Regions from separate parts of the Homo sapiens genome. Here regions 1, 2 and 3 are each linked to region 4. The links are contacts of gene promoters, found by promoter capture Hi-C in blood cells and fetal thymus (Javierre and others, 2016). All regions are on one chromosome and are shown on one strand. The core of a region is centred on a gene start or on the middle of the fragment in contact, and the rest is flanking DNA. Distances in the headings are between cores, read along the strand shown.

Evidence for each region. The method cuts DNA at HindIII sites, captures the fragments that hold promoters and counts their contacts. A CHiCAGO score of 5 or more calls a contact.
Region 1: the fragment with the promoter of ZDHHC17 here is called in contact with the fragment with the promoter of PPP1R12A in region 4 in 6 of 17 cell types (non-activated CD4 T cells, neutrophils, total CD4 T cells and 3 more); the score reaches 12.1 in non-activated CD4 T cells.
Region 2: the fragment with the promoter of NAP1L1 here is called in contact with the fragment with the promoter of PPP1R12A in region 4 in 2 of 17 cell types (non-activated CD4 T cells and total CD8 T cells); the score reaches 7.8 in non-activated CD4 T cells.
Region 3: a contact is called between a fragment that was not itself captured here and the fragment with the promoter of PPP1R12A in region 4, in 2 of 17 cell types (total B cells and total CD4 T cells). The highest score is 6.6, in total B cells.

The regions. Positions count from the first base shown.
Region 1 is chr12:76,758,961-76,766,341 of GRCh38, reverse strand. It overlaps ZDHHC17 (zDHHC palmitoyltransferase 17), which reads right to left and starts at 2,227. Exons shown (of 17, transcript NM_015336.4): 1 at 2,013-2,227. The coding sequence starts at 2,105. RefSeq lists enhancers at 1,880-2,029, 1,221-2,063, 2,039-2,333, 2,630-2,729 and a silencer at 2,080-2,489. The HindIII fragment of the contact is 3,524 bases long and covers 38-3,561 here.
Region 2 is chr12:76,081,924-76,088,904 of GRCh38, reverse strand. NAP1L1 (nucleosome assembly protein 1 like 1) reads left to right here and starts at 4,220. Exons shown (of 15, transcript NM_004537.7): 1 at 4,220-4,338. LOC124902970 (a long non-coding RNA gene) reads right to left here and starts at 3,820. Exons shown (of 2, transcript XR_007063379.1): 1 at 3,738-3,820; 2 at 2,172-2,694. RefSeq lists silencers at 3,786-3,945, 4,386-4,465, 4,606-4,655, 4,726-4,785, 4,836-4,905 and an enhancer at 3,949-4,490. The HindIII fragment of the contact is 5,148 bases long and covers 206-5,353 here.
Region 3 is chr12:76,557,658-76,564,883 of GRCh38, reverse strand. It overlaps OSBPL8 (oxysterol binding protein like 8), which reads left to right and starts at 5,113. Exons shown (of 24, transcript NM_020841.5): 1 at 5,113-5,487. It overlaps LOC105369850 (a long non-coding RNA gene), which reads right to left and starts at 4,982. Exons shown (of 4, transcript NR_188081.1): 1 at 4,651-4,982; 2 at 2,526-2,589. RefSeq lists a silencer at 5,283-5,472 and an enhancer at 5,883-6,192. The HindIII fragment of the contact is 537 bases long and covers 4,178-4,714 here.
Region 4 is chr12:79,932,919-79,940,514 of GRCh38, reverse strand. It overlaps PPP1R12A (protein phosphatase 1 regulatory subunit 12A), which reads left to right and starts at 5,418. Exons shown (of 25, transcript NM_002480.3): 1 at 5,418-5,820. The coding sequence starts at 5,584. PPP1R12A-AS1 (PPP1R12A antisense RNA 1) reads right to left here and starts at 5,234. Exons shown (of 2, transcript NR_146535.1): 1 at 4,961-5,234; 2 at 1-153. RefSeq lists enhancers at 4,903-5,468, 5,192-5,486, 5,533-5,832, 5,469-6,032, 6,173-6,232 and 1 more and a silencer at 5,913-6,002. The HindIII fragment of the contact is 9,894 bases long and covers 4,057-7,596 here.

The DNA.
Region 1 (7,381 bases), core at 978-3,477, 3.2 Mb after region 4:
GAAAATGCAGAAAGACCTCAGCCATGTAGTACAAGCTTAAGGTCCATCCAAAGTATTAAAATAATCAGACCTTGTGCTTCTTGGGTAAAAAGGAACGGTATATATTATGTATGCCAATTCCCACTATCAATGATGAGGAGGTTGACTTTCTAGTAATATCCTATCTATCGAATGGCAACCTGAAGATCGGTAGCTAAATTTCAAGCCTATACTGGCCATTCTACTACACCAAATAATCTGGATTTGTTGCCAGTTAAAATTATTCTTAAAGTAGCAAACAACAGTACTATATTACAAAGCAAAGGTTTATGAAGAACAGTATGCTAAAATACGTAAGATAGGCCTGGCATGGTGGCTCATGCCTGTAATCCCAGCACTTTAAGTAGCTAAGGTGAGAGGACCACTTGAGTTCAAGAGTTCAAGACCAGCCTAGACAACATAGGGAGACCTCTTCTTCTACAAATAATAAAAAAATCAGCCGGGTATGGTGGCGCGAGCCTGTGGTCACAGCTACTCAGGAGGCTGAGGGGAGAGGATCACTTGAGCCCTGGAGGTAGAGGCTGCAGTGAGCTGTCATCGTGTCAGTGCACTCCTGCCTGGGGGACAGGGAGAAACCCCGTCTCAAAAAAATAAACTGGATAAACACTTAAGTGTTTGAAATACTTTCACGAATACTTTCACAGGAACAGATGAATAGAAATCACTTAGCAACATTTTCAAGGCAACATCTGAAAACTACTTTGTCTATTTCCTGACGTATGTTAGGGCCTAAGTGAACCAAAAGAGATGTCTACAATGCCAGTTCTGAAAATGTTACCACTTTGGTCAGACAAGTGTTTAGTCTTACTGTATAGTTCTGTTTATCAGAAACCCAGAGTAGCCTTTTCTACTGAGACTGGCACAGGTATATATTCCGAAGGAACTGTCCCATGTGTTTTTGATAAACCAAAGTGACGAATGAGAGGGTGGTTGAGTGTTAACATGCAACATAAAAGGATGGTTGTCATTATTCACTTTTTAACAAAAACTAGTGGCATGGTACAAACCCAAATCCAGAAAAAAACAGAATCACTCCATTGCAAAGTAACCAGGTAGAGACTTCCATGTTTGTTCATCCTACAACACGACTGTCATCTTTTAACCTCATGAAAACTACCCGAGTTCTTCAGCAAACTGTGCCGCTGCCGCATACAGACATCACTGTGGATCACTAAAAATCAGAATGCATCAAGAATTGCTTCCAAGCCTTAACTAGCACTAGCTCAGCTACAAACTCGGAGGTAAACAAGCACAGACTGACTGACTGTGGAGCGGGGCACTGTTTACTTACATGGGAAGACACTCATGTTGTGATGGGAAACGTGTTGCACTGTCCACCCCTAGCTCCTAGAAAAACGGTACTTTGACAAGCTAATGTGAGTGTAAGTCTATTCCCAAAAGTTTTTACCTCTCTTCTTAATCGCTTAAGGACAAATGCTCAAAAAAGGACGCCCGACACAAGGTGCCCGAGGTGCTACCCATGGCATTACCTGGAAGGACATCACTATGCCCATGAAACTGTCCCCTCACAGTGGACTAAAAGGAAGCAATAGATACCGTCATTCACCCTGGCGAAGGAAAAAGAAATCAAAACCAGACGCGCTTCCACCTGGCCCCAAGAGGCTTGGAGCAAGACTAGGGTCTAAGCTGCGGTTCAAAAACCACACCAGGCCCCTCCGCCTCTGCTCTCAAACGCAGCGCGGCGACACAGCAGAACCATCAACACCTCCACCTCTGTCCTCCAGGCACAGCCAGGGACTGCGTCCCAGAGCCCGCCCCGGTCGGGCCCGCCCCGCTATCTCCTCCCCCGTTATCCGCTCGCAGCCGCGCTCAGGCCTGGATTCGCCTCCCCACCCTCCCCAACTTCGGCACGTCCCACTACCCCACACACGTCGGCCGCCGCCCTCGGCGAGTCCGGGGAAGAAAGGCTGGAGGGCCGCAGGGCAAGGAATCCACTCAGCACGGTTCCTCACCTCTGGGTGGAGAAGGGGCACACAGCCCGCTTCGGTATCGTACTCATCCGGGCCGTCCGCCATCTTGGTGTTAAATCCCTCCTCCCGCTGCATGCTGGGAGAAAGCGTTTCACCCTCCCGGGGCTCGGGCGAGGCGGAGGGCGAGCGCGGGGCGAGCGCGAGCCCCGCCGGAGGCGACGCGGGCCTCCTCCTCCTTCTTCTCCTGCCCCCGTGACGCCCCCTCTGTCCCCTCCCCCCTCGGAGGGCGCGGGTTTCTCCGCGCGTGCGCGGAAGCGCGGCCCGGCCCCAGACTGGATCGCGCTCTGCTGCACTGCGCTGGGGACGGCGGAGGGCTCTGGGCGTGGGCCCCGCGGCTCGGGGGCGGGTCCCGGCTGGAGGTAGATGTGAAGCTCTGGCTGCCCGGGGGAGGCGGCCGGGCGGTTGAGACAGTCGCTTGGGAAACCTAGCAGCTGCTCAGGAGCGAGAACAGAGCTCCGGAGCCGCACGCAGCACAAGTCTGGAGCCCCAGGCAGCCGAGGAGCCCACGCCCACGCGCTCCCACTTCCGCTCCGGGACCCCCGGGACCCCTCTTCAGGAACTCGGGCAGAGTCGTCAGCCAGCTCCAGGGAGGTTTGGGCCCGTCAGGCTTGAGTCGAGACCTGCATCATTCCTGAAGACAAAAGCAGCTTCCCTTTCCTCCACACTTGAAAAGGTCACCCGCAACCTGTCCCTCCGGGGGACGCCCGGAAAAACATGGATACAACTCGGGACTTCCTACTAGAGAACCCTTTTTTTTTTTTTTTTTTTTTTTTTTTTTTTTTTAATGAGACAGAGTTTTGCTCTTGCCGCCCAGGCGGGAGTGCAATGGCGCGATCTCAGCTCACTGCAACCTCTGCCTCCCGGTTCAAGCGATTCTCCTGCCTCAGCCTCCCGAGTAGCTGGAATTACAGGTGCACGCCACCACGCCCGGCTAATTTTTGTATTTTTAGTAGAGACGGGTTTTCACCATGTTGGCCAGGCTAGTCTCGAACTCCTGACCTTAAGCGATCCGCCCGCCTCGGCCTCCCAAAGTGCTGGGATTACAGGCTTGAGTCACCACACCCTGCCGAGAACTCTTTTTAAAATGATCCCAACCTGCTCTCAATCGTCTTGAATTAGTACCACACAAAAAATTTACGAGCTCAAAGCCCACACACCGCCATCTGCAACATTTCGATATAATCCAGGAATTCAGAACTGAAGCCACTTAAACTGAATTCGCTTAAATGCAAGGCAGATAAAATGACTAAAGCCATTTTTTAAAGGATTTTAGGGCGGTATGGGGGAGGTGCTCCCTGTAAATGGGCTGATGGGACAGTTTTAGATAGCATTTGTCTTTCCTTTTAGCTGTTAAAAATTGTAAGTCTAAACAGCTGAGAATTTAGCAGAGATCATGAAAGTTGACCTATTAGAGATCCTGGTACTTACTAATCTGTCTCCTGTTAGGCCAGAAACCACCAGGAAAAAGCCTGTACTCCGATAACGTCAGGCCAATTTGTAAATCAGGAGGGAGGGCACTCCAAAGGAAGCTTGGAATGCCACTGGAAAAGGAAAGAGGAAGCCTCCTTTGTAAGATTAGTTTCCCGCCAAAGGAGTCTGAGGAGGGTCTAAGGAGAGCCAGAATCAGTTCTGCATGGGACGCCGTTTCCGTGGCGGCATGAAGAAAAGCTGGGATTTACGAGGGATTGGATGCTGTCTTGAGGATACAGCAATTTAGTAATTAGGTACCTCCAGTAATAAAGTAGCAACACTAGTAAGAGCAGCAGTTACTCAAAGAGGGGTGAATATGGCGTGTCATAGCTACTGCACGGCTGTGGGAGAAAGAAGTTTCTCAGTTAACTTTGCTGCTGGCTTTTTCTGTATCTGTCCTCCCAGCACAACTACTTTTTCTCATTTCAGTCCGAGCTGATTTTCATTCTGTTCGTCCTGGCCCAAACTAGGAGTCATCTTTTACAGCTAGATAGTCTCAGGGTCGGCCCTTGGAGCATCGAATTGTTTTCAGTCATATGTTAACATGGACATAAGTCATTTTCACTCAAAAATCTCAATTTTTTTTTTTTTTTTGAGACTGAGTTTCACTCATGCCCAGGCTGGAGTGCAATGGCTCGATCTCGGCTCACTGCAACCACCACCTCCCAGGTTCAAGCGATTCTCCTGCCTCAGCCTCCCAAGTAGCTGGGATTACAGACATGCGCCACCATGCCCGGCTAATTTTGTATTTTTAGTAGAGACAGGGTTTCTCCATGTTGGTCAGGATGGTCTGGAACTGCCGGCCTCAGGTGATCCACCCGCGTCTGCCTCCTAAATTGCTAGGATTACAGGCGTGAGCCACCGCACCCAGCCAAAAATCTCAATTTTTTTTTTTTTTTTTTTTTTGAGACGGAGTCTTTCTTGCTCTGCGGCCCAGGCTGGAGTGCAGTGGCGAGATCTCAGGTCACTGCAACCTCTGCCTCCCAGATTCAAGCGATTCTCCTGCCTCAGCCTCCTGAGTAGCTGGGATTAAGGGCGCGCCACCATGCCCTGCTAATTTTTGTATTTTTAGTAGGGATGGGGTTTCACCATGTTGGTCAGGCTGGTCTCGAACTCCTGACCTCGTGATCCACCCACCTCGGCCTCCCAAAATCTTGGGATTACAGGCGTGAGCCACTGCGCCCGGCCAAAAATCTCAATTTTGAATCTTGCCCTTCCTTACCTTTATGTCTTGCATTGACTAGAAATAGAAGATTAGAGTAAATAAAGGACACCGACTGAAAAAGTTAAGTGGCATAAATATTAATAAAGCATTGAATGAAGTGAGAGTGTAAAGAAACTAGGCATGGAAAACTGGAGAAAATGTTTCAGGTACCCATGTATTAGGAATATTGGTACAGGTATATGATGTGGAGTATTCATAAAAGAAATGTTTAGCCTTCCCTGCGAAAATCAGTAAATCAGAGTTCACTTTAAAATCTAGAGTTCTAGTTCATCTGGCAAACAAGCCATCTTGACCTTCTTGCTCAGTCTCTACCAGGTCTATGGCCTGCTTTACTCGTTCTCATTACCTGCCTGGCTCTGTGGATATTTTTACTCCTGAGAATTCCACAATTCAAATATAAGGAAAATACTAAAAGCAGCCGAAAAGTTGGAACAACATAACCAGGGTCCATGTCTGTCTTGCTTACTGCTGGAGCACTAAAATAAATAGTTATTAAATGAAGAACTGAAGAAAGAGATCAAGAGCAGAAGCAGGCATGCTTAGGAAAACATGTTGAAGTTGAATCTTGAAGCAAACCCTTTAGATATGATCAGAGTCCATCTTGATAACTGTAGAGTTCTTATCTATAGCTCAAATTGAGAAAATATATTCAGGGGACTAAGGAGACAGCTAAGAAAGTACACTGATTGGATAGACTGGCAAAAGAATGGCATAGAATTATGGAGGAATGCAGAATAGTGGCTAAAAAAGAATAAAATTCAAAGAGAAAAATAGACCTTGTTAGAGAATAATTGTGAAATGGATTTAGAAGCAAACAGATTGGAAGGCATGGGGCATTGTTGTATAAATATAGTTTCATATGTAACTTCAGACACTACTGGAGCTAAAGACAGCATAGAGATTATCCAGATTTAGTCATTTCACAAAAAAGGAAATGATGGGGAATTTAAGAAACTCTCTTAAAGTTACAAAACTAGGTGGTAGCAGAATCATCTGGAAGCCTCCTGAATTTTCCCCATCTACTACTCTTTGCCTCTACCACGTTTCTTCTGTTGTTATTATCCTCAATGAATTATTACTTGGTCCATTTAATTTTTTTTATTGTGGGCCGGGCACGGTGGCTCACGCCTGTAATCCCAGCACTTTGGGAGGCCGAGGCGGGTGGATCACGAGGTCAGGAGATCGAGACCATCCTAGCTAACACGGTGAAACCCCATGTCTACTAAAAATACAAAAAATTAGCCGGGCATGGTGGCTGGCGCCTGTAGTCCCAGCTACTCGGGAGGCTGAGGCAGGAGAACGGCGTGAACCCGGGAGCGGCATGTGCAGTGAGCTGAGATCACGCCACTGCATTCCAGCCTGGGCGACAGAGCAAGACTCTGTCTTAAAAAAAAAAAAAAAAAAAAAAAAAAGGTTTTTTTGTGGTGAGAACACCTGACGCAAGATCTCTCTTAAATTTCTTTTTTTTTTTTTTTTTGAGACGGAGTCTTGCTCTGTCGCCCAGGCTAAAGTGCAGTGGTGCGACCTCGGCTCACTGCCAGCTCCGTCTCCCAGGTTCACGCCATTCTCCTGCCTCAGCCTCCCGAGTAGCTGGGACTACAGGCGCCCGCCACCACACCCGGCTAATTTTTTGTATTTTTAGTAGAGACAGGGTTTCACCGTTACCCAGGATGGTCTCGATCTCCTGACCTCGTGATCCACCCGCCTCGGCCTCCCAAAGTGCTGGGATTACAGGCGTGAGCCACGGTGCCCGGCCGATCTCTCTTAAATTTTTAAGTGCACAATAGGGTATTGTTAACCATAGGCACAATGGTGTACAGCAGATTTCTAGACCTTATTCGTCTTATATAACTGAAACTTTATACCCATTGAACAGCACCTCCCCATATCCTTCTACCTTTGGCCCTGGCAACCACCATTCTACTGTTTCTATCAGTTTGACTATTTTAGATACTTCACCTTTGGCCTTCAGTGAGTGGCTTATTTCACTTAGCATAATGTCCTCTGGGTTCATCCATGTTGTCACATATGGCAGAATTTCCTTCTTTTTAAAGGCTGAATAATATCCCATTGTATGTATATACCACACTTTATCCATTCATCCATCAATAGACATTTGGGTTGTTTCCATATCTTGGCTATTGTGATAATGCTGCAATGAACATGAGAGTGTGTTTTATGTCTTTGAGATCCCAATTTCAATTCTTTTGAATATATAAGCGGAAGTGAATTGCTGGATCATACGGTAGGTCTATTTTTAATTTTTTGAAGACCCATCATACCATTTTCCATAGCTGCTGAACCATTTTACATTACAGTGTACAAGGGTTCCAGTTTTTCCACATGCTTGCTAACACTTATGTTTTGTGTTTTTTTTTTCATAGTAGCCATCCTAGTAGGTGTGAAGTGATATCTCACTGTAGTTTTGATTTGCATTTCCGTGATGATTAGTGATGTTGAGCATCTTTTCATATACCTGGTCATCTGTATTTCTTCTTTGGAGAAATTTTTACTTAAGTCTTTTGTCCATTTTTTAATTGGATTTTCTGGGGGTTTTTGCTCTCCAGTTGTAGGAGTTCATTGAATCATTTGGATATTAATCCCTTATCGTATATATGATTTATAAATATTTTCTCCCATTCTGTAGGTTGCCTCC
Region 2 (6,981 bases), core at 2,971-5,470, 3.9 Mb after region 4:
GTATCTTGTGCAGTTTTTAGATGATAATTATTATTAGTTCCCTTGGATGTTTTACCTACAGATTAATTCAGAGGGAAGAAAATAAATACTGAGTACTTAAAGGGCAAGTCATTGCTCTGGGAACTTACATACATTTCTCTATTTCATGCTAATAAAGACACAGATTTTATTATAATTATTAATGCATTTTTCAGATAGGGAAGCTTGAAGATCAGAGTGGATAAGTACTTTTGCAAGGTCACAGTGTTGAAGGAGCCTATACCTGTCTGATGTTAAAGCCTATGCTTTTTTTTCTACTACATAGGGGCTGAAACACAGACACAAGCACAGGTAAAATACCATCTTTGTCATCAAATTTCTTGTTGATCTTCATAGTTCTTATCCAATATTGAGAAATGTTGACTATAATATTTTTGTGGTAATTGGTGTGGATTATTTCAGCTCAGGAAAATGTCTTTTAAAAGCTGTGACTAGATAGCTTTTAATAAAATATGTCACAAAAAGTGTCAGACACTATCAGAAGACTTCGGGGTAGTTCCTTAAACCTTTAAATAAAACAAAAATAAAAACAAAACTTCAGTAAGAGGTTAAAAATGGTTACCTTTTATTGAGCGGTCACTATATATGTCAGGCATTATGTTAAGCAACTTAAATGTGTTATTTAAAGTTTCACAGCTGAGCCAGGCACAGTGGCTTACACCTGTAATCCTAGCACTTTGGGAGGCCGAGGCGGGTGGATTGTCTGAGCTCAAGAGTTTGAGACCAGCCTGGGCATTGTGCAACCCCATCTCTACTAAAATACAAAAAAATTAGTGGGATGTGGTGGCGCGCACCTGCAGTCTCAGCTACTTGGGAGGCTGAGGCACAAGAATTGTTTGAACATGGGAGGCAGAGGTTGCAGTAAGCCGAGATTGCGCCACTGCACCTCAGCCTGGGTGACAGAGTGAGACTCTGTCTCCAAAAGTTTCACAGCTGGGCAAGGTGGCTCATGCCTGTAATCCCAACACTTTGGGAGGCTGAAGTGGGAGGATCTCTTGAGTCCAGGAGTTCAAGACCAGCCTGGGTAATATACCAAGATCCCTCTTGACTTAAAAAAAAAAAAATTTTTTTAAGTTTCACAACAGCCCTATGAAAAATGCATGCTTATTTTCCCCATTTTACAGATGTGGAAAATGAAACCTGGGATGGCTAACTGACTTATCCAAAGTTACACAGCTATTAAGTGGTAGAAAAATGGGGACAAAATAGGCTGTTTGACTCCAAAGCCACCCCTCTAAGCCTCCAGGCTACAATGCTATAAAAGTCTACCAAATGAAAATCATGGGAGATAGAGAAAAAAGGACCTTTAATTTTAGTATATATGCTTCCAAAGAGAGCATGAGAAAAGGAACTGCAACAGAAAATTTCGCATGGCCCAAGATCAGTGACCAGGGTCACCATTTATTGCAATTAAGTTAGATGAGTTAACTACATTGTGTGATTTGGGGGTATAAGAGGGGCCAATGTAAAAAGCTCAAAGGTGGCCGGATGCAGAGGCTCACACCTGTAACCCCGGCACTTTGGGAGGCTGAGGCAGGCGGATCATTTGAGGTCAGGAGCTCGAGACCAGACTGACCAGCATGGTGAAACCCCATCTCTACTAAAAACACAAAAAAACTAGCTGGGCGTGGTTGCGCCTGCCTGTAGTCACAGCTAATCGGGAGGCTGAGGCAGGACAATTGCTTGAAACCGGGAGGCAGAAGTTGCAGTGAGCCGAGATCGCGCCACTGCACTCCAGCCTGGGCAACAGAGTGAGACTCCGTCGAAAAAAAAAAAAAAAAAAAGCTCAAAGGTATCTTCAGGTCAGTCACCTCCTACCCCTTTTCTCATTTTATTTTCTTTATAGCATTCACTTATCAATTATTTATTATTGATAAGTGAAATTGTTTTATTACTAATATTTTATTAGTAAAATTATTTTATCTCTAATCATTTGCCTCACCTCACTAGACCATAACTTCAATAAAATCAAGAACCGTGTCTTTCTTACTAAATGCTGTATTTCCAGAGTCCGAAGTTGTGCCTGACATAAATATTTGTTGAATGAATGCATAAATGTCTGCCCTTCCCTGAACTTTAATGGCAAAGACTTAGATTTACAAACTGGTTCAAAAGACTATATTACAAAGGCATGCATTATTAGAAATATTTTATTGTTTAGTTTCTTAGATTGGCTAGGATACACTGAAAAAAGAAGAGGAAGCTGGAGAAAAGGGGGAAAGAGCATATGTACTGGTAATGATAACACCTAAGTTATAGGGGTTGGTGGGGGGGTGGTGAAACCTAAAAAATCCAGAGCCTTCATGAGCGAAGTGCCGAAAATTGATGAGGCTCTCTGGTGTGGGATAAAAACCACCACAAAAGCTAACTTCTCAATTTTGTCTCAGAAATTCTGCTACCATAAAGATTTATGGAAAGAAAGTGAAAGTTATTTAGTTCATTTTAATATGCTAATTACCTTGCATCGTGCACAGCTTTGATTAAAATGCAACATTCCTGAAGTTCTTATTGAAATTAATGTGTCAAATTTATGTTCAAACTGAGCACTGGTCTACCTTGTTTATGTATAGTGGGTTCTTCCTGAAGATCCATTATTGATGCTATTATGCTCCTTGTATCATTACATCATTGTTGAGAAGGGTGTACAGGAATAGGCTATGAGAACAACAAAGGAATTGTATATGAAAAACTAAAATGAATGAATAAACAGAGTCGTCTGCAGTATAGAGTGGGAAGGCAAATAATTTCAATGAGGTTCTGGAGGGCCAAGGAAAACATTGTATCCCCTAAAACGGAAGATAAAGTTGCTAAATGTGTGGATTACAATAGGGGATTCTAGGCAGTTTGAAGTTTCAATAAATGCAAGATTTAGAGAAGAGGTTCTCAAACTTTGTGGTCTTAGGATTCCTTTACACTCCTTTAAAAGTTGAGGACCCCAAAGAACTTTTATGTGCATTACTGATACTGATATTTATATCAGAAATTAAAAGTGAGAAATTTTAAGAGTATTTCATTTAAAAACAATAAAGCAATCAAATATTAACAAAAAATAATTTTTATATGAAAAATAACTACTCCCCCTTGCCCCCAAATCGAGTTTTTGCAAATCTCTTTAACGTCTGGTTTAACCGCAGATGACTGGATTCTCCTATCTGCTTCTATTTTCAGTCTGTTTCCTTATCACATGTCACGTAGCCTCCGGAAAACCCCACTGTACACTTGTGAGAGAATGAGAATGCAAAAGGCAGTCTTGACATTAATATGGAAATAGTTTTGACCTTCCCCATGAAAGGGTCTGGGGACCCTCAGACCATACTCTGAGAACAACTTTTTGAGTTAGTATTAGTCAATTCATCATCACTTGAAAATTAGCTATGAGGTTTTACAAGCCTGAGGATTTAATGTGATTTACTTTTTCAGAAAGATGAAACAACGGACGTACTGAGTGTCCTCATTATAACGCATCCAGAGAATGCACAAATATGCCATTTTCATCCGTCAAAAGAACTGAAGCCGAACTGACGGACTGTACATCAGTTACGAGGATGTGGCGGGGGGTTGGGGGGCAAAGGATGACGAGCACCCCCTAAAGGCGCGGAGACCCGCTGGCATAGGAGAAGCAAAACTGTCAGAAGAGGCCGCCGAAGTGGTCTAGAGGAAAAAACTGTTTTTCTTAGGCGGGGAAGGAAAACGGTTACCGGGGGCCGGCGAGTTGCAGGAATTAGGCCTTGACAGGGAGCGTCCGCCGTCTAGGCTGCGGCGAGCGAGGGACCAGGCGACTGGCGCCAGCCCTGAGCGTTCCCAGCACAACGCCGAAGGGGGCGGGGCGGGCCGGGCGCCGGGCACGCGGGCCAGGCCTTCCCCACAACTGATGGGGTTGAAATTTCCTTTCCGGCTCAGCAGGGAGAAAAGATATGGTGGGGTGCTTAACAGAGGAGGTTAGACACCGGCGGGAACCAGAGGAGCCCAAGCGCGGCGCCTGGGCCTCGGGGCTGCAGGAGTCCTCGGTGGGGGTATGGAGGTCGCCGGGGAAGGAGGACGGTTCAGTTGCTAGGCAACCCGGCCTGGACCCGCCTCTCGCTCGCGTTGCTGGGAGACTACAAGGCCGGGAGGAGGGCGGCGAAAGGGCCCTACGTGCTGACGCTAATTGTATATGAGCGCGAGCGGCGGGCTCTTGGGTCTTTTTTAGCGCCATCTGCTCGCGGCGCCGCCTCCTGCTCCTCCCGCTGCTGCTGCCGCTGCCGCCCTGAGTCACTGCCTGCGCAGCTCCGGCCGCCTGGCTCCCCATACTAGTCGCCGGTAACGGATGGGGGCCTGGAAGGGAAGGGGGAACGTGGTGTTGGCTGGGCGGCCTGCGCAGATGGGAGGGCCGGAGGGATGGAGGGACTGGGAGCCGGGAGTCGGGGCCGCTGGCCGCCCGTGGCCTCCGGGGTCGTCCTGTGAGGTCGGACAGGACCGCGGAGTCCGGACCCCGGAGCCTGAGAGGGGCCCCGGGGCCGACCAGCGCTTTTATCGGGGACGGCTGAGGCGACGTAGGGGTTGGCGCGGCCTGGAGGCCTAAGGTTCTCTGAGCTCCACCGTCTTTTCCGCGTGGACCGGAGCGAGGCCGCGGTGACGCCCGGGTGCCCTGAGACTCGGCTGCGCCGCGAGGACCGGGAGGCCCCCGGCGTACGGGCCGGGCCGAGTGCAGAGCCGGCCGCCTCTTGGACACCCCCCTGCTTTTCCCTCAAAAATAATACCAGGAGGGAGGCCGCTGGGAGATGAAAAGAACGGCGGAGGCTGCGAATTCCGACGGGAGGGAGGGGCTGTGGAGGGACGAGTCCCCGAGGCGGGGAGGGGGCGGGGGAGGCTGCGACGCTCCCGGGCTCTCCGCCCATTGGGGGCGGCCGCGCGGGGAGGGGAAACCCCCGGCGGCTTCGCTCCACACGTGGTAATGGGCTTCATGGCCACTGGCTGGGCCTGGTTGGAGACCCTTGCCCTCGGTCTGTGCTTACTTTGAAAGTTGTAGAGACGGTGGAATGTGAAAAGGAAGGGTAAGCGAGTAAGCCCTGTCCCTGGGTTTCAAACTCTTCCCTGCTTCTCTTTGGTCTTAATCTTTTTATTGGTACCAGAGATTGTGGATGTTAGCTGATGATAAGGAAGGGCCTCCACTGCTAGTATTTTAAAAAGTTAACGCGTATATAGCGCTTATATTAACTGTTATTAGCAAAAGGTTGTTATTGTGTTTCCCAGGTACTGTTAGATGGGTGTCTTGATCAGGGTTTTTTATTTGGGGAGTATTGATCCTGATCGATCTAAACCCCTAAACCAAGCTTGTCCAACCCGCGGCCCAGGACGGCTTTAAATGTGGCCCAACACAAATTCATGAGGTTTTTTTTTTTTTTTTTTTTTTGGAAAAAAAAGCTCATCAGCTAGTTAATGTATTTTACGTGTGGCCCAAGACAGTTCTAGTGTGGCCCAGGGAAGCCAAAAGATCGGACCACCCCTGCAAACGGTTCTTAGATGAAAATAAAATGTTTGGCCCTTTATGACTTTAATTGTTCTTGGCTGTCTTATAAATTAGTTCCTTTATTGAAGTCACTAGAATAAGATACTTAACGGTTTCCTTTTTAAGATGGGAGGTGGGATGGAATGAGGTGTTAGTATAAACTTTGCCAAGTTTGTAGCCTGCAACCTTGTCAATGAACCCTACTGCCCTAAAGATCTGGGGGATGGCAGTGTAGGGGGGCTGGGACTGAGGTCCCATCTGGGAAGGCTAGACTTTGAGAGTGCAAAAAGGATGAACCAGGCGCAGGATGTCCTCAAGGAGCCCGTATTTTAGACGGTCACTGATCAGTTTTGAAACAACTACATTTTAAAAATCTCACTGCTACATTTGAAGATATCCCACTGCTGCATTTTAAAATTTACACTGCTTGCCTGGTTTCACAAGAGCTGTAAAATGAAATTTGGCCTTTTGAAAATAGGTGGATTCAAAACATCTTTGGAAACGAGTATCTGGGTCCTCTTTTTTTGGTCAGCTTAAATTAATACTCCTATACTTTGGAAGTAATATACATTACCTTTGATTGAATAAGGGAAAAACCTTTTATGTATAGGGTACCATTTAAAAATCGAAGGGAAGTAAATGACTTTTACAGTTATTTTCAAGGCACTCTTGTGTTTCAAGCTTGTTTGAAGTTGCCCAAGTTTAAATAAATGGCCTAAATCTATAGTTTAGTTCTAAGAATACTGTCCTTTGGAGAATGTATGGAACTAAACCCTGGTAGGTGGACTTGGACATCTTCTGTCATAAAACCTGACTTTCATAGATTCTCCAAGTCAACATTATGTTAGTAAATAGAAATTTAAAAGTTTTCACTATACCAATTTGAATATCTTTCTAAATTTTATCTGCTACAAAGTGCCTATTTTTATATTAGGCCCATTGATTTGCAGAATTATAAAGCTAATACTGAATATGGTAAATTACTGCACTTGGCCTTTAATGAGATTTTTGAAACGAATACCTGTACCATAACTAATGTAATCCAAAATGCCATCTCATTTTATTCAGCTTGCTCCTGTTGGCTCCTGGTAAAACTGAGTTGATTCTAAATTCTCAAAATATATTCAAAACTAAGGGTCTTTTTGTAGAAGGGGCTAAAGAAGCAGTATCTGTTGGACTTCAAAGGTCTGAAGATGTCAAAATACAATATTTTATTCACTTCTTGGTTGTAAATTTGAAACAAAGGATTAGAGAGAATGACTCATCAATATCAAAATATTAATGATCAGTGTATTCAGATCTTCAAGTTTAATCAAACCTGTAATTGTGTTCTCAGTTTAGTCTTTGGGTAACTATCTAGCACCTGTATGGACATGTATCTTATGTCATGAGCAAAAGAGGCAAATTGGTTGCTTAGATGTAGAATGTTAAATTGTGATGAGAGCTATAAAGGA
Region 3 (7,226 bases), core at 3,197-5,696, 3.4 Mb after region 4:
TCAAGTGATCTGCCTGCCTTGACCTTCCAAAGTGCTGGGATTACAGGCATGAGCCACCACACCTGGCCCAGTCCGTGACTTGTAAATCCAGGATCTGAAGTCTTTTAAAATTTGTTTGTGCTGTCTTAAGTCTGTACTGTTTCTCACGAATGGTGTCTTATTCTGTGCTTGTTATTTTTTTTTAAATGTGAGCTGCTCATTTTCCTTAAAATTTTATTTATAGTCATTCTTTATGGCTTAAGATGAAGGTGGGTTCCTCCAGAGAGGATTGGTATTTGCTTCTGCCAGGTTTCTGAGAGCATTATCAGTCAAAAATTCATAATTACGCCTAGGTACAGTGGCTCATGCCTATAATCCCAGCACTTTGGGAGGCGGAGGTGGGCGGATTACCCGAGGTCAGGAGTTCGAGACCAGCCTAGCCAACATGGTGAAACCCCTGTCTCTACTAAAAATAAAAAAATTAGCTGGGCGTGGTGGCACGTGCCTGTAGTCCCAGCTACTCGGGAGGGTGAGGCAGGAGAATTGCTTGAACCTGGGAGGCGGAGGTTGCAGTGAGCTGAGATCATGCCACTGCACTCCAGCCAGGGCGACAGAGAATCCCTGTCTAAAAAAAAAAAAAAAAAAAAATCTTAATTATTAGCCTGAAGTTTTTGGGGACCACCCAGCTAGTATGAATTCAAGCTACGTTTTTGTGTGAGAATTGGATTGCAGTTCCAAATTCTCAGATACGATTTTGCTTTTCCCCTGTCCACCAGGTGCCAAGGTTTAAGACGGCTAATTTTCTTTGTAGATTCTGGGGGATGGGTGCCTATGCTAGTAAGCAGCAAGTTTATTTCTAGTATATCCTTACATCAAATTAATAATCCTTGGAATTGCAGTTGTTTGTGTGTGTGTGTGTGTGTGTGTGTGTGTGTGTGTGTGTATAATGCAGGTAATGGGTTTTGTGTCTTTCTTACAAGGTCACGAAAACCAATGCTCCTAGTAACTGGGTTTAGCACATGCCCTTGAGATAAAAGTTGGCTGACTCTGCTAAACTCTAGGTTCCTGCCTTCATTTAGTTTTTTAACTTAATAATTTCTTACCCTATTGTCAGTTAATCAATATATTTAATAAGATTTAAAAAATGTTTTTTCCAGGGATTTTGTTTTCAGTGTGACAAGTGTGAACTAGTCCTTGATATTTCTAGAAACAGAATCCTATATTCTCTTTATACTTTACTATCCAAATTTTCCTCAAGGGATATTTAAGACAAATAATACTAAACAGAAATATTTAAAATCAGTATGTAAATATCTTACATGCAAACATTTTGCATGCAAATTTACAGATTTTATAAAGACTGCTTCTTAACATAAATTTTAGGTGGATATTTACCAAATAGCTGGTTGACTAGTTTGTAGATGTCTGTTATTTATTTTATTAAATAGACAAATATTATTGTTCCACAGTACATTTAGCCTTTGACTCATGAGTTTGTTGGCTCAAATTCACTTTAGATGATTTGCAAGATTATGCTACGCAACAAACAATCTCAAAAATATTTGTGATTCACAACAACAAATATTTTTGTTTTACTCTTGTTTCACATCAGTAGCCGTATGTCAGGAGCTGCAAGTCAGTTGCTTCAGTTCTGTACAGGGTGAGAGTTTCAGGTCTGCTCCATCTATTTTCTTATTCTGAGATCTTATCTGGAACATACCTTTCTCATGGCAGGTGGCACAAGAGTAAGAGATTGACCTGAATTTTGCAATCAAATTTAAAGCCTCTGCTTTGATTTAGCATTTAACATCTGCTCACAAAGCACTGGCTAAAGCAAATCACATGACCAACAAGAATACAAGTCTTCAAAGCTGTGTTGAATACCTTATTTATGGCTGAGGTTGCTCTTAATCTAAATTCTCTTCCAGAAAATGAGGATTTTAGTCTAGAATCCTGATTAGTAATTGTCAGCAACATAATTGTCTAATGGGATAAGCCAAATGGAAAAAAGCAAACAACCTCAAGCAACATCTCTGTCATTCTAGGTCAGGGTTGAAATATACTGTGGGAAAGGCTGTCAAGCCTGTCAGTGCTTAAACTAATTTGGAAAGAACTTCCCATTCTTAGAAATGTATAATTAATAAAGCAGTAGGCAAAAGAGATGAATTCTCATTGGAGTTAAAATCGGATCGTTATAATAAAAAAGCTTTATTTCAAAATGTCATTCTTAAAATCATTGTAAGAGTAGCAAACTTGCAGGGCATCTCTGGGAGTTACTGAATATTTTTCAGTTACAGTGCAGGATCACATATTAGTTTCTGTTTATGTTGTCATTACATTGAAAATGCTAGATTGAATTATCATTCCTGGAATCACAATATCAGATTTGAAAGGATCTGAAAAAATGATTTTTCAACTGTAGTGGATTAATATATTTTTGTGTTGCAATCAGTTGTTAAGTATGTCAAAATCATTAGTTATTCATGACAAGTAACTATTATACTAGTGATAATCAAAGTAGAGAAGATTGTGAAAGATATACTTACATTTGTTTTGCAATATCTTCACTTTCAATTACTTGCATTAGGACTTTCTTTTTTTTGAGTGGAGCTGAAAGAAGTTAAACGTAGGCTGTCAGTAATTTGCATAATCCTGAGTATACCGTGTCTGTTTGTTTCCAATGTGATTGCCATCCACCGGGAAAAAAAAAAGGTGGTTTAGTATCATTTCTCAAACAGCATGTGGTCCTACTTGATTGGAACTTGAAATGCAGGGAGTAATTTATCTAGTCATACATCTCATTAGCTAAGTCTGTAACCTAGGCTTCCTTGCTTCCAGTACATTGCTTTTTCCAACAAATGATCAAATTTTCAAAAGCCAATGTATGAAATTGGGGCTGAGGCAGAAGAGAATTAGGCAAGGCAATTTGCCACCTTTTTCTAATCTTTAGTCTCAGTTTCCAAAGTAAAATAAAAGTACCAGAAAAACGGGGTCCAGATGGTGTATTTTGCATATTATCTATGCTCTAGGAACATTCTTTTCCAAATCTATTTGATTGCAACTCACAGTAAGAAATTGTTTAAATCACAACATAGGACATACTCTCACCTTCCACCATATTTGAAACAAAAAGTTTCAGGAAGCAATTTTTGCCCTTACTAGACATTATGCACTCTGGTATTTTATATTGTATTACATCCTAGCCTATTTCATATAAAAATGAAATTGATTTTTGAGTTGCAGGTTGAAAAACATGCCTCTAGAAAACAGGAGACAAGTTAATCTGTTAACAAACTCCAAAGTTACTAGCTTTGCTGAAATAATGTCACAGAATAATAAACTTCCTTCACATTTATTTGTACTACAGTCTCTCAGGCTTCAGAACAGAACCTGGTAGAATCTTTTCCTCTTTGGAACACCAGTTCATGACAATATCTCAGAGATTCTAAGACTCGTTGTTTCCCAGTTCATGACAATATCTCAGAGATTCTAAGACTCGTTGTTTCCCAGTTCATGACAATATCTCAGAGATTCTAAGACTCGTTGTTTCTGACATGTTTACATCTCTGAATTCAAGATGTGTCTCAGGCCGGGCGCGGTGGCTCATGCCTGTAATCCCAGCATTTTGGGAGGTCGAGGCGGGTGAATCATTTGAGGTCACGAGTTCAACACCAGCCTTGCCAAAATGGTGAAACCTCCTCTCTACTAAAAATACAAAAATTAGCTGGGCATGGTGGCGCATGCCTGTAATCTCAGCTCCTTGGGAGGCTAAGGGAGGAGAATCGCTTGAACCGGGAGGCGGAAATTGCAGTGGGCCGAGATTGCGCCTCTGCACTCCAGTCTGGGAGACAGAGTGAGACCCTGTCTCAAAAAAAAAAGGAAAAAGATGTGGCTTAAAGGTGCCTTACATATCAGCGGTATGGCATAGTTTCATTGGCAGCCTTTGTTTTCTTTCTTGGGTAACATAAAACAATGTAAGTCTATGATTTTTTTAGAGCTGCTATGAAATATATTAATAATAATTATATAGGCCAAACTCTATTGCTTATTCATTTCAATGTATCCAGCTTATCAGAATGCCTTCTGATTTCTTGTTAAGAAAATGTAATGAGATGAGAATAGCTTAAGAAAAAAATCCTTAGTTCTGGGCTACAAGGGAAAATGAGTTATGACCCCAATTTAATTATTACAGAAAGCTTTCTCATTTGCCTTCATTGTGATCAGGGTTTGAGTATGATCTTTATTCTACCTCCCTTACTTCTGTATAGTTAGGATTTCATTAGGCGGCTAGAGGGTTCTTCGGATCATGGCTAAAAAAGAAAGCAAAAGGTTAAGTCCTAGAGTTAAGGAATTAGGAAAAAAAAATTAAGGCATTAGAAAAAAAATCAAGAATTAGGCTTTATTTTAAAAAATGGAACAAACTGTCAAATTCCTGCGTACCCGTTTAAACTGTCACCAACCTAACACACTGTAAAACTTAATGACTGTAAAACTGGCAGCAGGATCCTGAACATAACAAGGAACAAAAATAAGTTTGCTAGGCTGTTTTCATCCCAGCATGATTGAAATACACCGTTTCCTCAAAAAAAAAAAAACCTCTAATGAGGAAAGCAGTAAATTAAATGCCACGGTTAATGTGCCACTAGAAATAGGAACAAGTAGTTTAGTTACCGAATGCTTCTTAGGCCATACACTCTACACCACGATGCGTTCTTTTTTCTGTTTCGCTAAAGCTTTCACCAAGCCTAAGGCTGGAGAGGGGTCCTAACTGAGCCCTGACCAGACCAGGGAGCCCTACTGTGCAATCTCCTCAGGTTAGGAAGGGCCCAGTATGACCGGCCCAGAAGGCCTGGCCGATCAACAGGCGCTGGGCCGACGGTGGTGGGCTCGCTTCCTGAGGCTGCCCTTGGGCATGCGGAAGGGGACTGGCTGGCGATAACACCCTGGCGAAGCAAGGTGGACAGTGACTCCCGCCCGGTTCGAGCCCGCCTAGCAGGGGAAGCAACTCCACCACCGCCTCCGCGCACCGTCACGTGACGGGAAGAGGGCGTGGCCGAAGCCCGTGATCCGGGGGGCGGGCGGGGCAGGGGGAGGGCACTAGAATGTGAAGGATCTTCGCGGTTCTGGGTGCCCAGAAAGGCGGCGACGCGGCGGATGACAACATTAGGCCGCGACGCGCTCCTGGCCAGGCGGCGGCTGTAGTGTTAGCTTTGGACGCCGCAGTAGCCGCTGCCGGTAGCAAGCCGACTGAGGGAAGGTGGGGGTCCGCCCGGGCTGGTGGACCTCGGGGCCGAAAGTTCCCGCCCCGCTCGGGGGCTGAGCCGGCAGTGCCTCCGCGGCCGCTGGGCAGCGCCCTTCGTCCAGGCTCGCGCCCCAGCTGCCGCCGACGACAGCGGCCGAGAGAAGTTGGGGTCTGACTAGACGCTTACGGGGCCTCGGACCCCGGCGCCGCGGCGACCTCGGAGGAACCGGCTCCTTGCGTCCCGCCTCCCTGGGAGCTCCGCACGGGTGAGTGTTGCTCCATTCCTGAGGTTGGGGTGCTGGGTTCGCACCCCTCAGGGCGACTGCGCACCCTTATTGCCACGTTCTGAGCTCGGGCTGTCGGGGACTCCTGGCCACCCCCGCCGAGGAGTTCTTTGGCTCCTTTGTTCCCTTTTGGAGTAGGGGGATTGGAAAGGCTGGCAGGGTGGAGTGTTTAGGGGCCCACAGTAGGTGCATCTGCAGCCTTACAAAAGCCGCGGCAGGGGAACGGGGGTGGGAGGCTGTTGGAGCATTTCGACCGCCCCGGGTGTCTGTCCCTCCTGAAGTTTGATAGGTTGATGGCATGGGCCTCGTTGGGAGCCCCCGCGCCCAGGAGAGCTGGCGCTTTGTCGCTCGGTGCGGTTAAGGCGAGGCTCCTTCTTTCCTGTGACAGCCCCAGAGAAGGCTGTGCCGCGCACCGCAGACCGCACCCGCCTTTGCAGAGCCAAGCGACACGGTGTTGTTCCTCTAAGCCTCAGTTCTCCCGGCCTTCTTGTAACGTAGGAGGAAAGCCAAGCCTTTGCTGTGCTTTTAAATTTAATGTTTGTTTCTAAGCCCTCTCTCAAGAGTGGAATCAGGTTCCAAGGAGCTTCACAGGCAGCATGCTTTAGGTTCATTGAACCACCCACTCAAGACTGGCTGAGGCGAAGCAACAGTATATGCAGATTTTCCATTCACAAAAGTCATTTAACACTCTTCTTTATGAGACACATCTGCGTTGCAGAACGTAACCTAATTTCATTTTATTTAAATGCTTTCTGAAATAATAGGTAACTTGGACAACGTAAACAGATGGGTAAACTTTAACTGATAATGTAAGTATATATGCATTAAATAAAAAATTTAATGATGTTTTTGCCTTTCTGCTGCTAGAAGACTTAAATGACGTCTGAGTAGTAATACAGTGTCTCCTGCATGGCAGTTAAGTTTTTCCCAAAATTAGTGCTGCTTTTGAAATAATCCTTTAAAACAGTTTTTGCCTCCCTTCGTATCTAGAGAGAGCAAGAATTGTGGAGAATCGTGGGTGAATTGATTGTTAAATTTTGCTAATTTCCTAGAGTTTCATCTAAACTTGATTTTGCTGAGAGGCTATGATCAGTTTCTATGCTTGCTAGAACCTGTTTTGCAGTGAAATTATTAAGATCATGCTAGTTTTATAAAATAGGTTGGAATAGGAAAAGTAAGGCCATGCAATTTAAAACTGTTCTCTATAAAAGTACAACTAATTTCAAATGTTTGTTACTTTTATTTTTTTTTAATATTAACCGTGTATGGAGTGACTATAATATACCTGCTCAAAGGGCTGAGAAAGGAAATAGATGAAACTTAAGCTACCTTTTGGGTCTTTAATTATGGACATCAAGTTATTGCGGTCACATTCCATGTCAACCGTTTGAACAGCAATACCGTGTACACAGGTGCTTAGAAATGCCTGTTTAATTAAAAATGGCCATGGTTTATTTCTCTTTGATTGAATCATAATAGTTATTGAATCTCTGATCTGTGGAAAGATGCTACTGTATTTTCCTTAGAATGTTACTGCATTTTAAAGACAGTCAAATATGTTTTTTATAACACATTCAGGGTACTTATACATTTGTCAATATTCAGTTCCTTGGTTCATTTAAAAATTGGAAGCCTTAGAAAACACTTTGGGGATAAATTTACAATTGTGTATAATGAATTTATGTTTTAGTTTGCTTTAAGAAAAATGATGAAATTATGAA
Region 4 (7,596 bases), core at 4,169-6,668:
GATCTGTGAGCAAATCCCTGCTGTTCAAGAGACCAACAGACTTCTCTCTCATTCTTTTGAGCCTTGGTGTCACTTATTATTCTCAGTGAAATCCTTCTTTCCCATGGAAGCACCCAAAGATGGCTTGGGTGAACCCCTCTGCTTGGTTCCACCCTAAGTAAAAATAACATTCCATGGAGTTATGGTGAAAATTTTTGTAAAGTGAAAATAAAGGCAAATTTAGAAAACAGTGCTATTTTTATTGATTTATAATGCTATGCAAATAGAACTTAAATAAGTTTCTAGCAACCTCATATACTAATTCCAATCAGATCACTAGCCCTAAATTCTTATTAAATAGAAATTGGTGGGTGGACATTTCAAGTAGGAGGGAAAATGTTTTGAAAGCAACTTCTGCTTTCTTCCTTGCCACAAACCTGTCCTGAGGCAAGGAAGCAGAGTTGCTATCAGCTTAAATAAGGGAAGGAAAAGGCAAATACAAGAACACAAATAAAATCTCAAATTTTTTTCTCTCTCACATACATTATTCATTTAATCTTTAAGACAACCACATGAAGTTGATATTCCCACCTGTCAAAATTGAGCACGGTCAGCATGTTTTGGTTCTCATGAATACCTTGTTTTTGCACTCTGGTCTGTGAAGGAATTTTAAAGCTTTTCCTAGGATTTGATTTGAAGGACAATTGAATGGATCCCTCAACTAAATATTAGTGATCCAAGATAGAACTCATGCACCTAAACTTGCCTTCCAGATATTGATCTTGTAATTTATTCTTCTAATTTCAGTGCCATGGAGAATGACTCTTATTTCTGAAATTCCTTCAGCACACAGATATTTTCATACAAATTGGCCTTCCTGCCAATGCCTTGCCTTGACACCTTGAGTTGGGGGTGCCACTAAGGCCTATCCTATAACCTTCACTTAATTAATCGTAATTATTATTACACATACTAATTAAAGTCAGTCAGTTTCCTAAAGTGTAGGACATGTAGACTGGTGGTACATGAGGTAATGTTATAAGGTAGATGTAACATTAAAACAACAGTGAAGCACTTAGCACAATATTCTTTTTTCACTACCTTTTAATCTTTCCGATTATGCTAAACTGAAAAATCTTAGGTTGATGCTCACATGTCCAACCCTTACCAATATCCCTTTTTTAACAAATTGAGAGCACAGCTTGGGCTCAGACCCTTGACAGACAACCTAACTAATGTTTTGTTTTCATTGTATTTGCTTTAACAGTCTTCTTTATGTCAAGTGGAAACGTTTTTCACTTACCAAAGCAACATAATGTTGCTTTAAAATAAATTTGTCTTAAAAAGGTTAAAGAAAACATTAAGCAAATACTAGTATTTGCGGTTCTTGAATTTGGCAATAAAACTGATAAAGTTTGGGAAACATTAATTCATATGAAAGGGGCATGTGATGTTCTGTCACATGATACAGGTTGGGAGTCATGTGCAATGGAGGTGAGTTATCTCTTTAGCAGTATAACTGCACTTTGGATTGTTGCCAGACACTCATCTGAGTCCTAGTTTTGGGGAACAAAAGAAGCTTTATGAGCATATTAGCCAGTACTTGTACTGTGATAGGGTTAGTTTCTTGAAATGGAGTCAGATGTGGCAGAAAATTTACCCTAAAGTAAATTAGAAACTCACCTTGTAATCCAGAGGCAAGGCAAAGATTAGATGCTATGATCTAGAAATCAGGATTGATCTAGCAATGGAGTCTGAAGCAAGTTAGGGTGGTTCCATGTTGGTTCTGGTCAACTCCCTGGGTAGGACTAAATAAATTATGATGTGAATGGATTGTAAACTTTTCTTCAAGTTCTTTTTTTTTTTCTTTTTGAGACAGAGTCTTGCTCTGTCACCCAGGCTGGAATGCAGTGGCACAATCTTGGCTCACTGCAACCTCCGCCTTCTGGTTCAAGTAATTCTCATGTATTCTCGGGTTCAGCCTCCCGAGTAGCTGAGATTACAGGCACGTGCCACCACGCCCAGCTAATTTTTGTATTTTTAGTAGAGACGGGGGTTTTGCCATGTTGGCCAGGCTGGTCTCGAACTACTAACCTCAGGTGATCTGCCCACGTGGGCCTCCCAAAGCCCTGGGATTACAGGCATGAGCCACCGTGCCCAGCCTTTTCTTCAGGTTCTTAAATAAAACATTGGAAAGAAATTATTATGCAATGGAAGAGAGTTTGGCCCAGGTGTAGAATACAGGAGACAGAAACAAGGTCCTTGTTGACTGTTCTATTCTCAAGTGTATAAATGTAAATTAGTATCTCAGGTTTAAATTAGGGATAAAGAGAACATAGATATATCAAAGTATTTATTAATATCTTATGTACATTTTTAACAAAGAGATTATAATAGCAGAAACAAATCTAAGCTGTGCATGTCAGCATTTCAAATATGTTTATAATTTAAATTAAGTTGATCATAATTAGCAAGCAAATTAATGGTAAGGAATGTCAGTAGTGTGATTAAACTTTGAAAAAGATATACACAGATCTCATTCTGACAATCTTGTGCATGTAATAAATAAAACCCCCAGCCAGGTACAGTGGCTCAAGCCTGTAATCCCAACACTTTAAGAAGCCAAGGCAGAGGATCACTTGAGCCCAGGAGTTTGAGACCAGCCTGGACAACATAGGTAGACCCCATCTTTACAAAACTTAAAAAATAAATTAGCTAAGCCTGGTGGTGCACGCGCCTGTAGTCTCAGCTACTTGGGAGGCTGAGATCATGCCTCTGCACTGCAGCCTGAGCGATAGAGTGAGACCCTGTCTCAGAAACAAAAACCTCCAATATGATTGATTTGGTGCAGCCAAAAATATATTTTTATATATACATATATGCAAATTAGTAAGTATAGTTTTATTTGTACTTCTATTTTAAGGCTTAATTTGCTTTAAAGGAGCTAAAATGTATCCTCACATCCCAATCTGTTTAGAAGCCATTAGGAAGTGAAAATATTTGCATTTTTTCCATTTGTTCTGCTTAGACAAATATGTAATAAAAGCATGTGTGTGTGTGTGTGTGTCTTTTTTTTTTTTTTTTGGTAAAGATAGGGTCTAGCTCTGTCGCTCAGGTTGTAGTGCAGAGAGCTCACTGCAGCCTCGAACTCCTGGGCAGAGTTCGCCTCAGCCTCTCAAAGTGATAGGATTACAGGTGTGAGCCACTGTGCTGGGACTGTGTGTGTCAATAAAAAATTTTGCTTGTTCTAGAATTAACCCAAGGTCTTCAGTACCATTAATTCACTAACAACAATTTAAAAAAAATCCTCCCTAAAGACAAAGTAGGTGGCAGTTTCAGAGTACTTTCAATATTAACATAGAGCATCTTGACCCTTAGAGCCACGAAAGAAGAAAAACTAAATTCAGTGAAATTTGCACATGATAGCAGCCCTCCTTGGTTGTTTTTTCCCTGACAGCTTCTGGGAACTGAATGAACTTAATTATGTTTTATTAATAAACTATTATTAATTTTGCATCCTGAAATAAGTGCTTGAATCAGGAATAGCATACTTCCCACTAAATTCCTTTTGCCTGAATGAAATCTTCAGATTCCCATCTATACTGCAAGGGCACTTTAAGAGCTACCACATAGGCCATAACGTTCTTGGAAAACAGGATATGCTGTCAGTTGCCTAGGTAGAGACAGGAGCTGACAAGGCAATCCTCAAGTTCCTTTCTTTTATTCTGAGAGCTGTATTCTGTGGATAGGGATTTTGTATTTTAGTGCTAACAATGTTTTTCAGTACCTAACACCATGAGTATTCAAAGGTCTGATGTTATCTTTAATGTATGTAATGAACATACAATGGTATATCTTATGAATATTACATTCATTTTCTATTCCTACAACGTTTTCAGAGGAAATATTTTTACCCTGACCTGGATTCTATCGCTATCCTAATAACTGTGGTTCAGAAAATTGTCTCACAGGCAGACAGTTTCCTAATCACGTTTTACTCAATTATTTTATTTCTCAATATGATAGGCTGTGAAGTAGTCCACTGGAAAAGGCATCATGCTGAGAGTAAGAAAAGCTTATTTGTTCACTGCTCTATCTCCAGCACCTAGAACAATGCCTGACCCAGAACAGGTGCATAGTATTTGCTGAGTGAATTCTAATCCTACTTCTGGGTAAAATTAAGTAAATTAATTAGTTCTTGAGGGACTCTGTCTAGATGACCCCTAAACTTCCATGGTAAGGTTTTGTGGTTTTTATCTTGGCTTTTCTAAATGCTCTAAAAATAGTAGTGGATGGTAACAATGCAGTGTTCAGTAAAATCAATTGGTGGAGATTGTAGATAGATGGCTCATAAGACATCAGTATTACAAATCCTATGTGTGTGCGCGTGTGGTCATACAAGGCAAAGTTAAAGTCTTTTTTTTATGACGATGATAAATTAGTCTTGTTTGGGCGACTGAACTCAAGAGGTGGTTCAAATAAATGTCATATTTTTCATTGTATCTTCAGTGCCTAGTACAGTTACTGGCTCATAGTAGGTATTCAATAAATAGTGGTTGAATTAATTGCCTTCCTTAACGTTCCGTTTAAATGCTAGACGCAGCTAGGTCTTTACCCCTCCTTAGAAAGAGATGGAGCTGTAACCAGAAATCCCTTAAAAGGTAAGGACCAGTAATCAGGCTGAGCTAAGCTCATGGGTAGTACGAGACAGGCTTAAAGCACTGAAGGAAGAAAGAAGAGAACCCAAGCGTGAGAGAAAGCAAAACAAAACAAGTAAAGAGAGGAAGAAAAACATTTCTAAAGTGGGGGTTGGCAGGAAGCCACAGCAATTACAGCAGGTCAACCCTTGTCAATAGGTGGTCACCTCAAGAACTTACCATTAAAACCCTCGGCCACACAGACCCCACTTTTAAAAGGTTATTAATTCTGACATGCCCAAGTTCATCTGAGTTCCTTAGAAAGATCAACCAGCAGCACCTACTTCACGACCTATCCTCCATTCCATTCAAATAACGCGGCCAATAGGAAAATCCTCCGCCCTGAGCCAACGACTCGGCGTAGCTGAGACAGCACGGGAGGCAGATCTGCCCTGTAGAGCCTTGCGGTTCCACTGCTGGCCTCCGGATTCCCGGGAGCCCCCAGCCCGACAGGACAACCTTCCTTCCCCGCTTCCTCCTTTCCAGGTCTGTCCCAGCCCCCGCTGCCTGGGCCACACCCGCTTCCCTCTGGTGGCCCAGCCACCACCGCCGCAGTTCGCGGGAGCGCTCTTCCTGGGGCGGGCACAGGCCCAGGGCGCATGCGCACTGGTCGAAGGGCGCCTCCCAGTCCGGATCTCGCGAAGTTACGTTAGATTGGCCGCCGGTGACGGGTGGCCGTGCTGGGGGCGGGAGGGCTTCTGTGGTAGGAAGGGAGGTCCGCTCGGCCGGGTGCGCCGCCCCAGTGCTCTGTGGGATACTGGAAGTCTCGAGCGTCGGCTCCGGGTTCCCAGCCCTCCTCTGGCCCGCACTCATAGAAACATTCACACACCCCCTGCCTCCCCTCTCTTCCCTCTCCGCCTCCCCCTTCCCCCCCTCGCGATAAGAAGACCCGGCGGCAGGAGAGGGGATGAAGATGGCGGACGCGAAGCAGAAGCGGAACGAGCAGCTGAAACGCTGGATCGGCTCCGAGACGGACCTCGAGCCTCCGGTGGTGAAGCGCCAGAAGACCAAGGTGAAGTTCGACGATGGCGCCGTCTTCCTGGCTGCTTGCTCCAGCGGCGACACGGACGAGGTCCTCAAGCTGCTGCACCGCGGCGCCGACATCAATTACGCCAATGTGGACGGACTCACTGCCCTGCACCAGGTCTGTGCGCCCCGCCGCCGGCTCTCCTGACCGTGAGGGTTCTCGTCGGCCTCCTGCTCGGGCCTGCCCTCAGTTCTCCACCTCTTGAGGCTGGGGGCGGCGGGAGACTCCCTGCTGCGGGGTGAGGGGGCGGTTTCCCCAGAGGGCGGGAGGGAGAGCTGGTGGAAGGGAGGGCGCTGGGCTTGAGGCCCCCCTTCAGAACAGTTGCTGGTGGAGTTGGGAACCGGGTGATTTCCGGGGCATAGGGGAAAAGGAACTGTGGTCGTTTGGGGCCCCAGGGCCATTCGTGGATAAGTCTGGGATTTGGGGTCGAGACAAGGAGGGGTGTAGTGGGGTTGTGCCTGGGCCCCGGTGTCAGTGGTATATTCGGAGGGGTGGATGCTGAAGGAAGAAAACTAACAAGGGGCATTACGGACGGTTAGGCAGATGAACATCTTTGACTTGTAGGTGGGCATTGGATTTGTTGCACTTTTTAGGACTTGATTACAAATGATGATAATAATAGTAATCTAGAGCCCTAAGCCGAGTGCCCTGAACGAACGATTTCCTGTTTTCTCATTTATTACTCTTGGTCACTGGGGAGGGGAAAACAGGGTGTAATTAGCTGATCTGCACCGGCTGAAAGGAAGGGGATGGAAGTGGGTAGAGTAAGGAAGCCCTCTAAAGGGCTTGCCCACCTCCGGACCGGAACGTGTTGAGTCTGATACTCGAAGTTTGCCGCAGTGTCAGAGATCCTTGAGCCCCAGGTCCTCGGGTGTGCACTGGTGTTAGAAAGAGAAGAATAAATAGGGGACACTCTTTTCAAAGCCGGTTACCAAGCTCTGGTTTTTCTTTTGGGGTTGGGAAAAAAGAAAGCTGGTCACAAACTTTTCTCAAAATGGATGCTTTGTGCATATTAAAGTTTTATAGTAGTCTGATTGGGATCTCTCAATGTTAGCCAAATAAGGAGAAACTATTGGCAATCCAGAGATAATGTTGCCTTGCCTTTAACAGGCCAAAAGCAACACAACCACGTAGAGTTATGCATAAAAAGCAATTTTTAAGTGACGGTAATAGGTGACAAAACATAGGCTTTTTCTATTTTCTTAGCGGGCAACTTGGAATAACTGTAATAGAAAATGACTTTGCAGCGATAGCTTCCCCTTAACAATGAAAAGACTTGTAAGCTATCTCAAAGTTGCCTTGGTTGTGTGTGGAAGATGCATAGCCTTATTTTGAATAATGTTGTAGTAAAAACTTGTTTGGGAGGTTGAAACTCAAGGCTTTATATTTCATGAATATTAACTTGATGCCTTTTAAAAAAAAGGTGTGTAGTGACATTTTTCCTTGTCCTGCTTACTGTTTAAGGGAGTGATGACCATTTTAAATTTTGTGTAATGGAATTCTCTTATCAGACTTGGAGTATAGCCTTTGTTTACAAAGTTGACTGGATATATTGAAATGATTGACACATTGCAGGACAAATATGGAATTAAAAATGTGGCACCCAGTAAAAATATAGCAGGGTGTCTAGCGCTTTCTCAATTTCATTAATTTAGATTCTCTAATGCATAGCAAACTTTTTATTTGGGTGAAGTTTATTTAAGGCATATCATAACTCGTAAAATTTTAAAACCATGGTGTTGAGAATGAAGGAAACTTTTGGCATTAAAAATGATAATGTAATTATATAAGATGAATCTTCAAATTTCTTTCAAGTGTACTTTACACGTTTTAGTGTGAAACAGATTTTGAAAGACGATTATTACTGTAGGAGGTCAGGATAATTGGATAATG